Linked DNA regions of Homo sapiens: region 1 is linked to region 2. The links are contacts of gene promoters, found by promoter capture Hi-C in blood cells and fetal thymus (Javierre and others, 2016). All regions are on one chromosome and are shown on one strand. The core of a region is centred on a gene start or on the middle of the fragment in contact, and the rest is flanking DNA. Distances in the headings are between cores, read along the strand shown. Region 1 holds the start of CCDC90B (coiled-coil domain containing 90B). Region 2 has its middle 23 kb from the start of MIR4300.

Region 1 (4,873 bases), core at 1,111-3,610, 1.4 Mb after region 2:
GTAGGGGAGATGAAGTGCCCAGAATCAGTGTTTCCAGCTCAAAGTGGAATAACAGATCCTTAATAATTTGAAGAGTTTTGTACAGACTTAAACATCTGTACAAAACCCCAAACCTTTCCTTTCATTGTTACTACTTTTGTTTCTTTGATACCTATCTTGTGGATTTGTTTGTTCGTAATAGCGAGATACAAACTCAAGAGTTTAAAGGTTTAACCAGTTTCACAAAACTACTAAGTCATAGATTGTGGATTGGAACTCTGGCCTATCTTGCACCAAGCTCCTCTTTGCTGGAAAAGGTCAAATTTTACTTTTGAAAAAACAACCAAGCAAACATGTAAAGTGTTGTCCCATTAAATTTAAGCTGCAAGTTTTATATTAATTTACTGCTAATTTTACAGCTGAAACACTTCAGTGTATAGCCAGTTACTTTTCTGTCAGGAATTCAAAAGAACAGGCATTAACAGCATATATTCTTACATGCTGGTCTACTAACGTGCTACACTAGTTGCACTAGAATAACTAAGGTCCTTCCATTGGTCAGAGGTCAAGGTTTTCAAATCCCTTGATTATTGACATTATTAGGCAAGTTTAAACTACTTGTATAAAATAAACATTCAATATTTGTTTAGTGAGGAAGGACACAAATCCTACTAGTTGTAAGAAGAGATTTAAGGTTTCTCCAAGAACACTCAGATTCAAGTGGGATAACTTTTATGTTAAAACATTAACATGTACTTATGGTCATTTATTTCCCAGTATGATATACACTTCAAAGTTCATTCTCTAAGAACATTTAATTTTGTTTTCATTTGGATATGTAAAAGTCAACAAAGATGGCAGCTGGATGACTTCCTGGAGTTCAAAAGTGCTACCTCCTTTTTGTAAAATCCATCATAATGTGTATGTATGCTAAACACTCAAATACCTAACAAAAGAGACCTTGTGAATGACCCTGGCAGCTAAACAGCAATCTCACAGATGGAGGATCAACAACTGCAGTTTTGACTGCAGCTGTTACTGGTGTGGATTAAAATGAAACAATGAGCAAAATAGCACAAGTAACAATATGGAGTATAAATAACAGCGTAGAAGTGTTTGGGTACCGAATGGCTCAGCGTACCTGGCACTGAAGATTCAAGAAGGTGAACAGAGATAAGAGGTGCCTATTCGCCTATTTTGTGGACAACCTTAAAACGGTTTAAAAACTGGGAGGGAAGTTAAAAAACTGGGGGTGAAAAACAACGACGACAACAAAAACCTAGCCCTAGAAACATTTCTCTGAATAAAGTTAGATGTCTTCAGGACACCCTGTTAACAGGGGTGCCAACAGGTTGGAAACTTGTGGGTTCCAGTATTCACTTATTTTCCCAAAGTCTACAATGTGACTGAAATGTACTGAGAATTCCAGTGAGAATAAGGCAGACGTGGCCTGAAATTTATGATGCTGTCTACCAAAAACCTGGGCTCGAGGCCAGCACCTAAAAAAACAAAATCAAAATTTGATCAGGCCACAAAAGAAAACAGGACACCCTCAAACACAGATTACCTTACGTTGGCTCCTGACGAGATTACTAGCCTCTTGTCACCAAAAAACGGAAACAACGGCTGAGAAAGAAGCCGGGCGCGAAGCCCAGGCCTTCAAAGGTTCGCTTTAAGAACAGAAAGGCAGTGCTTTCCTCAGTCCTCGCCCCTTGGGGCGAGCTGGGCAAGTCGGGGCAGCAGGCAGCGGCGTCGCCCAGCACAAGGCGTGAATCCGGGAGGAGGGCGTGGCACCTTCTCTTCCCGTTCGCTCGAGCAGGCGCGACCCCACGGGCATCGTCTCCCTAGAGAGCACTCAGGCATCTATGACACGACGCCTTGCCTCACCTCTCCGCAGGGCCGGCGAGAAATGCCCGCGGGGCCTTGAAACCCAACGATCTCCTCTGCCTTGGGAGAGAAAGAGCCGCCAAGCCTGGCGACTATTCATGTCCTCAGAGTTTTCCGGTGGGAGGGAGGCGGAAGACGGGGTAAATCTCGCACAGGCTTTCGGGCAAGGTAGTTCTGGCACCACAGGAATGCTGGGAATTGTAGTTTTCGCTCTGTCACAAGCTCACCTCCCAGCGCAGGCGCCACCGTGGTCCCACGAAACTGGGTCTCTTCACAGACAGACCCACAGTTCGCGAGCATGGCTCAGCGCTGCCCCGCTTCTCCCAGCGCCCCTTCCCGACCTTTGAACGCCTTCACCGCCCTAGGAAAGCGAGATCTTGTCAGAGAACCTTCCGGCGCCTGTTTCCTGGCAGTGGGGCATAGTCCAACAGCTGGCTCCCCCAAGATAGCCAGCGGCCATTACGCGCTTGGGTCGGGGGAGATGGAGTCGCATTTAGCCGCACAGCAGCCTGGAACCTGAAGTTTTCGGCCGCTGAGCGTTCTGGGTGATTGCGTAGTGCGAGGGCCAACGAAACCTTCTGGGAAGTGTAGTCCAGCAAGCCGCTCACTTTTCGTGAGGCGTCACATCCTGCTGCTTCACCCTCTGGTGCACGGGAGGACCAACTATTTCAGTCGGTATGTCCTTTCTTTAGGGAAGCCGAATTCCTCCGTTTCTAGGAGAAATTCCTTGAATTTTCACCATTTATCCTTCTCAGACCTCAGTTACTCAAGACTGCTCCGCATAGTAAAATGCTGAAAGCAACAATGCACAGTAGTTGTATTAAAATGCACTAATACTCATGAATATTCTCTGTAAGTTGTAAAATGGCACACAGTTGTGCGGTGTTAGTGGCTTACTCTCTCAAGATTCTAAACAATTACGGCTAGGTTTCTATCTATATGTATTCAAAGCTTTGTGAGAGTCAACTAAGTAACAAACACCATTTCTAAGGCCCGAAGCACATTGAAAGAACAAAACTTGATTCCCGCCAACAACTGCTTTAACAGACAATTCATGAAGAGGAAATATAAATTGCTATTTAAAACACTGGGATGGCTGGGCGTGGTGGCTCATGCCTGTAATTCCAGCACTTTGGGAGGCCGAGGCGGGCAGATCACCTGAGGTCGGGAGTTCGAGACCAACCTGACCAACGTGGAGAAACCCTGTCTATATTAAAAATACAAAATTAGCCGGGCGTGGTGGCACATGCCTGTAATCCCAGCTACTCAGGAGGCTGAGGTAGGAGAATCGCTTGAATCCTGGAGGCGGAGGTTGCAGTGAGTCGAGATCACACCATTGCACTCCAGCCTGGGCGACAGAGTGAGACTCGATCTAAAAAAAAAAAAAAAAAATTGGGAAAAAAGTTTGATCTTACCAGTTTCAAAATACAAAACGCAAAACCTTAGGGTATATCGAGGTTAGGGGTCCCAATGATCCCAACAGGATGTAAGCATAGTACTCAACAGGTGCTTTTTCAACCCATGCCCCTCTGTCCGTCTCCCCCTTTCCTCATCTAATGATCCTCAATGCCTGTTGTTTCCACGTTTACCATCATATATTCAATGTTTAGCTCCTACTTATAAGTGAGAACATGTGTATTTGGTTTTCTGTTCTTGGCATTAGGTTGCATAGGATAATGGCTCCAGTTCCATCCATGTTGCTACAAAGAGTATAATTTCCTTATTTTTATGGCTGCATTATATTCCATGGTGTATATGTACCACATTTTCTTTATCCAGTCCACTGTTGATGGGCACTTAGGTTGATTTCATGTCCTTGCTATCGTGAATGGCACTACAATGAACATACGGTTGCATGTGTCTTTTTTTTTTTTTTTTTTTTTTTGGCTTGAGGCAGGGTTTTGCTGCGTCACTCAGGCTGGAGTGCAGTCGTGCATGGCTCACTGCAGCCTCAACTTCCTGGGCTTAACTGATCCTCCTGCCTCAGGCTTCCAAGTAGCTGTGACTACAGGTGTGCACTACCACAACTGGCTAATTTTTGCATGTTTTGTAGAGATGGGGTCTTGCCATGTTGCCCAGGCTGGTCCAGAACTCCTGGGCTCAAACTATCCACCCGCCTAGGCCTCCCAAGTGCTGGGATTACAGGCATGAGCTGCGGTGCCCAGCTCTGTGTCTTTTTGATGGCATGAATTATTTTCCTTTGGGTATATACCCAGTAGTGGGATTGCTGGGTTGAATGGTAGTTGTATTTTAAGTTCTTTGAGAAATCTCCAAACTGCTTTCCATAGTGGCTGAACTAGTTTGCATTCCCATCAACAGAGTATAAGCATTCCCTTTTCTTCACAGCCTAACCAATATGTGAATTTTTTTTCTTAATAATTGCCATTCTGATGGGTGTGAGATGGCATCTCATTGTAGTTTTGATTTGCATTTCTCTAATGATCAGTGGTGTTGAGGATTTTTTCATGTTTGTTGGCTATTTGTATGTCTTCTTTTGAGAAGTGTGTGTTCATGTCCTTTGCTCATTTTTTAATTGGATTGTTTTATACTTCTTGGTTTGTTTAAATTCCTTATAGATTCTGGATGTTAGACCTTTGTCAGATGCATAGTTTGCAAATATTTTCTCCTTCCCATTCTTAGGCTATCTGTTTACTCTGTTGGTAATTTCTTTTGCTGTGCAGAAGCTCTTTAATTAGGTCCCACTTGTCAGTTTTTATTTTTGTTGTAATTGCTGTTGGGGACTTAGCTATAAATTCTTTTCCAAAGCCTGTGTCAAGAAGGGTATTTCCTAGTTTTTTTTCTAGAGTTTTTATAGTTTGAGGGCTTACTTTTAAATCTTTAATCCAGCTTGTGGTAATTTTTGTATATGGTGAGAGGTAGGGGGGTCCAGTTTCATTCTTCTGCATATGGCTAGCCAGTTATCCCACCACCATTTACTGAATAGGGAATGCTATCCGTGTTGCTTATTTTTGTTGATTTTGTTGAAGACCAGATGGTTTTAGGTGTG
Region 2 (4,686 bases), core at 1,049-3,548:
TAAGGAGGAAAATTAAAAGGTAGATTTTTTTTTGTATTTGTATAAATAAATGACAAGAAGGATGCAGATGCACACAAAAAAAATCCAAAAGCTGTGTATGTGGGGAGTGAAAGTTATTTAATGTGGTCAAAGGTGGAATTAAGAGTTTCCACAGTTCACATTTTGAGTAAAATTTATATTTTTTAACCTGTAAATATGTAAGAAATTTAAATAATTGAAAAATGTATGCTTTAGATTTTATGTACTTTCACTTCTTTTCCATCAGCATCTAATCCACCAGACTGTCAGAAATAGAAATCACCTAAAAATCATTTAAAGTAATGCATACTTATAAAAATAGAAACCTATAAATTGACCCTCTCTGAAAAGAAGAATATAGATTTATATTTGTTTATATTTACATGTAGAAATAATTGGATACACAAAAATAAAAAATATTTACATATGATAACTAATTATATCAGTTGTTTCTCCCTGAGTCATAAACATTATCACAAAAACAGCTGTTATTTCTTTTTTGTGTGTTTATGTGCATACATATAATGCATGTTTATATGTGTATATGTGGAGAGAGATTATACATATACATATATAATCTAAATAATTATATGCATATTATTTTTCCTGAAAAATATTTATATTAGGTATTGTTTTTCTCTTAATTATATTATGAAAATAATTCCATGAAAATACTTCCAAGGCAGTGAAGAATATTTTAATATCTAGCTGTATTTTTTATTATTAATTCAAATGATTCCCTTTGCTGGGAATTTAAGTTGTTAATATTTTTAAGTTACTGAATTGTTACAGTGAACATAATTGCATGTTGTTCCATTTTCAGGTCATATTATTATTATTATTATTAATTTTCTTATATTCTTTCTGGAACAGTGGGAAACATAAATAAAATATTTGGTACAATAGTCTTTCTAGAAAGACTATTATAATTTTTTATTTTCTTCTATATTCTTTGTTGGGCCATAAGCTCATGAAGAAAGAGGTTATGAGAAATCTTCATTTCTGTATTCTTAAAGAATAATGTCTTCTTTATAAAGGTATTTAGTGGATGTTTAAAGAATAAGCAGCCACATTCTTTCTAATTTCTATAAGCAAAATAAACAGCCACTGGCGCTCTCTGCCCTAGGAACATAGGTGCGTGTGTGAATATTTTTGTGTAATGTACATATATGTGTATATATATGTGTAAAAAATTATACATATGTATGTGTGTGTGTGTGTATATATATATAATCTTACTCTATTCTGGTATAGAACAAGGAACAGGCACAAGATTATTTACTCTTTCTTTGGATTTCATTGATTTTTGATTCATAACCTTAAATGCTTTGAGCTTTATGAGTATTAAGTCAAACACTAATAAAAGTAATTATTCAAATATTATACACATGCTATGTTTCACTTTAGCCCCTGTCCAAAAAAAAAAAAAACAAGTTTTTCCCTTGAAATCTTTTTTTTCTTATACTGAAAATTGCATTAACTTTCACTTATAAGTTTTAACATCTCTCTTTTTTCAGACATCTTTGCTTAACTTTCAAACAATTGCTTTAACTAAATTTCTCTCAGTACAACTATAAAATCTAAGTAGCCTAACCAGGGCATAGTTATGTGGCTAATAACCAATATCTGAGCAAAAACAACCATTCATCTTTCAAAGTCTAACATTGTATTTTCTTAGGACAAAAGGGGAATTTGTTTTAAATTCAAACTAAATTATTGTTTGTCAGAGAAATTTATTACATTTTGAAGTACCGTAAGATAAGCATATTTCAATATAGCCTGCAATTTCTTTTTTGCAAGCCAGTATTTATTTAACACTATTTTGCTTTCTCTGTGCATATTTCTGGCTTCTCCTCCCAAGCTGTTTGCTGTTTTATAGCAAATGAAAATATGTTTGCGGAAATTGCATATAAAACTGTTTATTGAGACTTAAATCTTCTGTGGCTGTTGTTTTTCCCTCAAAGCTCCCAGTTCTAGTTCTCTCTCTCTCTCTTTCTCTCCCTCTCTCTCTCTCTCCCTCTCTTTGTCTCTCTCTCTTTTTGTGTGTGTGCGTGTTTAATATAATTAAATTTCTATATCTTATATACCCTTAGTCTATCATTCATTTCGAGTTGGGTTAGGACGATGGGAGGTAAGTCAGTTTTTTAATGCACCTAATGCTCCTGAACATATAAGTAAAGAAAGAAGAATTTTGTGCTGGATCCAAGAGCATTTATATTTAACTATATGTAAGAAAAAAGATAATTTTTGACACTATATTGTTCATAATTTAAGTTTGGTTGCATATGAATACTTAAAGGTCTTTAACTAAAATATTTGCCATTACTTTTAATGGCAAAAACTGCAATTACTTTTGCACTAACCTAATGGAATGTTATTATTTTCTGAAGGTAAGTCCAGGTATAAGCAAAGTAGGGCTGTACAGCATTGAAGAATAGTCAGATTGCTGACCAATCTGATCCTGAGTAGAGTCTTTATCCAGTACTTGCTATTTGTATTAGCCAGTTCTCACACTCCTATAAAGAACTACCTGAGACTGGGTAATTTATGAAGGAAGAGGTTTAATTGACTCACAGTTCTGCAGGCTGTACAGGTGGCATGGCGGGGCAGGCCTCAGAAAACTTACAATCATGGCAGAAGGGTGAAGGGGAAGCAAGCACGTCTCCACATGGAGGAAGGAGAGAGAGAGAGCAAATGGGGAAGTGCTACACACTTTCAAACAACCAGATCTTCAGAGAACTCACTATCACGAGAACAGGAAGGGGGAAATCTACCCCCGTGATACAAGCACCTCCCACTAGGTCCCTCCCCCAACATTAGGGATTACAATTCAACATGAGATTTGAGTGGGGACATGGAGCCAAACCATATCGCTATTGTTCACTCATTCATTCTCTAGAAACCACCTATCAAAATCCCCATTTTTAGCTGTGTAGTATTTTATGTAAATATCTATAATATACCTACAGATACATGTATAAATTTTAGAATAGTATTAGATTTATAGAAAAATCATGAAGATAGTAGAGTCTGTGTATTCCTCACCTCCGGTTTCTCCTATTATTATCTTATATTACTATGGTGCACTTGTCATAAATAATGATCTAATATTGATAAATTGTTATTAACCAAACTCTATAATGTATTTGAAATTTATTAGTTTTTTTCTCCTTCCTCTGTTTCAGGGTTCCATCCAGGATACTGCATTTAACTGTTATTTTTCCTTAGGGTCCGCTGGTTTGTACTGGTTTCCTAAACTTTCTTTGTTCTTGATTACTTTAACAGTTTTGAAGATCAGATATTTTATGGAATGATCCTATTTTCAGAAGCCCTCAATTTAGTCTCCCTAATGTTTTTCCCAAAATAAAACTAAGGCTATGTGTTTTGGGAAGAAAGACCACAGATACAGAGTGCCGTTCTCCACACATCCTGTCAATTATACATAATATCAACATAACTGACCCCCAACAATATCAATCTTGATCACCAACCTGAGGGTTGTCACGTTTCTCCACTGTAAAGTTACGCTTTTTCCCTTTCTATCCTGTCCTCTTGGGAGAAAAGTCACCATGCACAACCCACACTAAAGGAGTGGAGAGTCATGCTCCATTTCTTGAGAGTGGAGTATCAAATTTATTTGGAATTCTTTTGCATTGGATGTTTGTCTGTTTGCTCCTATTTATTTAATATAAATTTAAATCAAATGTAATTAAATTCAGTATACTTTAATCAAATCTATTTAATATAAATGAACTGTTTAATAAACAGTTAAATATAACTGGACTAATTTATATTTATTTTATACTTTGTGTTATAACACTAAAGTTTTACTTAGTCTGTTGCACAAATTGCTCCAGCTTTGGCCATTGAGAACACTTATGTCCCTTTTTGATACACCCATCATTATGGGATTTTTAAAATCATTTCTTACTTTCTGGAGCTATAAGATACTCTAAGATACTCTAGTATTATCTTGTCTATTACATTCTCCACACCAGAAATTTGATATTTTACCAAGTTGCCTCAGTTCCTTTTTTTTTTTAGCAATTAATATTAGAATCAAATGTCTGGGCACTGAGTTTGCTTGTTGTTAGAATATCAGCATGTTATTGCTTCAGTGAGCAGAGCTAGGAAATATGTGTGTGGGGGGAGAGAGAGAGAGAGAAAGAGATAGGTGTGAAGGGACTCAGCAGAATGGGCGAGGGGCATATGCCAGTCTGAGCAAATGAAGGTTTATGCCACACTTCATCTTTGCAGTTAATCTGTGAGGCTGCTGAGAAACCAGCCTGTGATTCCCCTGTTGCTTCAGCAGGAGACATATGCTGCATATCACTAAATATTACACCCCAAATGGCAAGACACTGTGAAACAATGGCTCTTATTTTTCCCCTTAACCCACAGAGCAGTTCATGTGAAACAGCTTTGGTGATTTGATATGAAAAGGAGTTCCATGTTGTGTGAAGAGGGATATAAAATCCAGAGGAATAGAAAATATCTTCTCATGCTGCTCTGTGGTGCTTGTATGGCATCTAGTACAGATGTGACATTAAGGTAGATTAGATAGTGTGGTTATATGCTCTCTTAAAGAGGAACAAACTTACCAAATAGATGGAGAGAACAAACCACTCAATAGTGGCCAAACCACATCCTGGGCTTGTGGTTAGAGCA

The links. The method cuts DNA at HindIII sites, captures the fragments that hold promoters and counts their contacts. A CHiCAGO score of 5 or more calls a contact.
Region 1: a contact is called between the fragment with the promoter of CCDC90B here and a fragment that was not itself captured in region 2, in 3 of 17 cell types (naive CD4 T cells, non-activated CD4 T cells and naive CD8 T cells). The highest score is 8.3, in naive CD4 T cells.

The regions. Positions count from the first base shown.
Region 1 is chr11:83,284,007-83,288,879 of GRCh38, forward strand. It overlaps CCDC90B (coiled-coil domain containing 90B), which reads right to left and starts at 2,361. Exons shown (of 9, transcript NM_021825.5): 1 at 1,867-2,361. The coding sequence starts at 1,966. CCDC90B-AS1 (CCDC90B antisense RNA 1) reads left to right here and starts at 2,114. Exons shown (of 3, transcript NR_186344.1): 1 at 2,114-2,541. RefSeq lists enhancers at 1,134-1,730, 1,619-1,698, 1,731-2,326, 1,749-2,398. The HindIII fragment of the contact is 4,800 bases long and covers 1-2,815 here.
Region 2 is chr11:81,865,234-81,869,919 of GRCh38, forward strand. No RefSeq gene overlaps it. Among named protein-coding and RNA genes, the nearest start is that of MIR4300, 23 kb to the right of the region's middle. The HindIII fragment of the contact is 7,284 bases long and covers 1-4,686 here.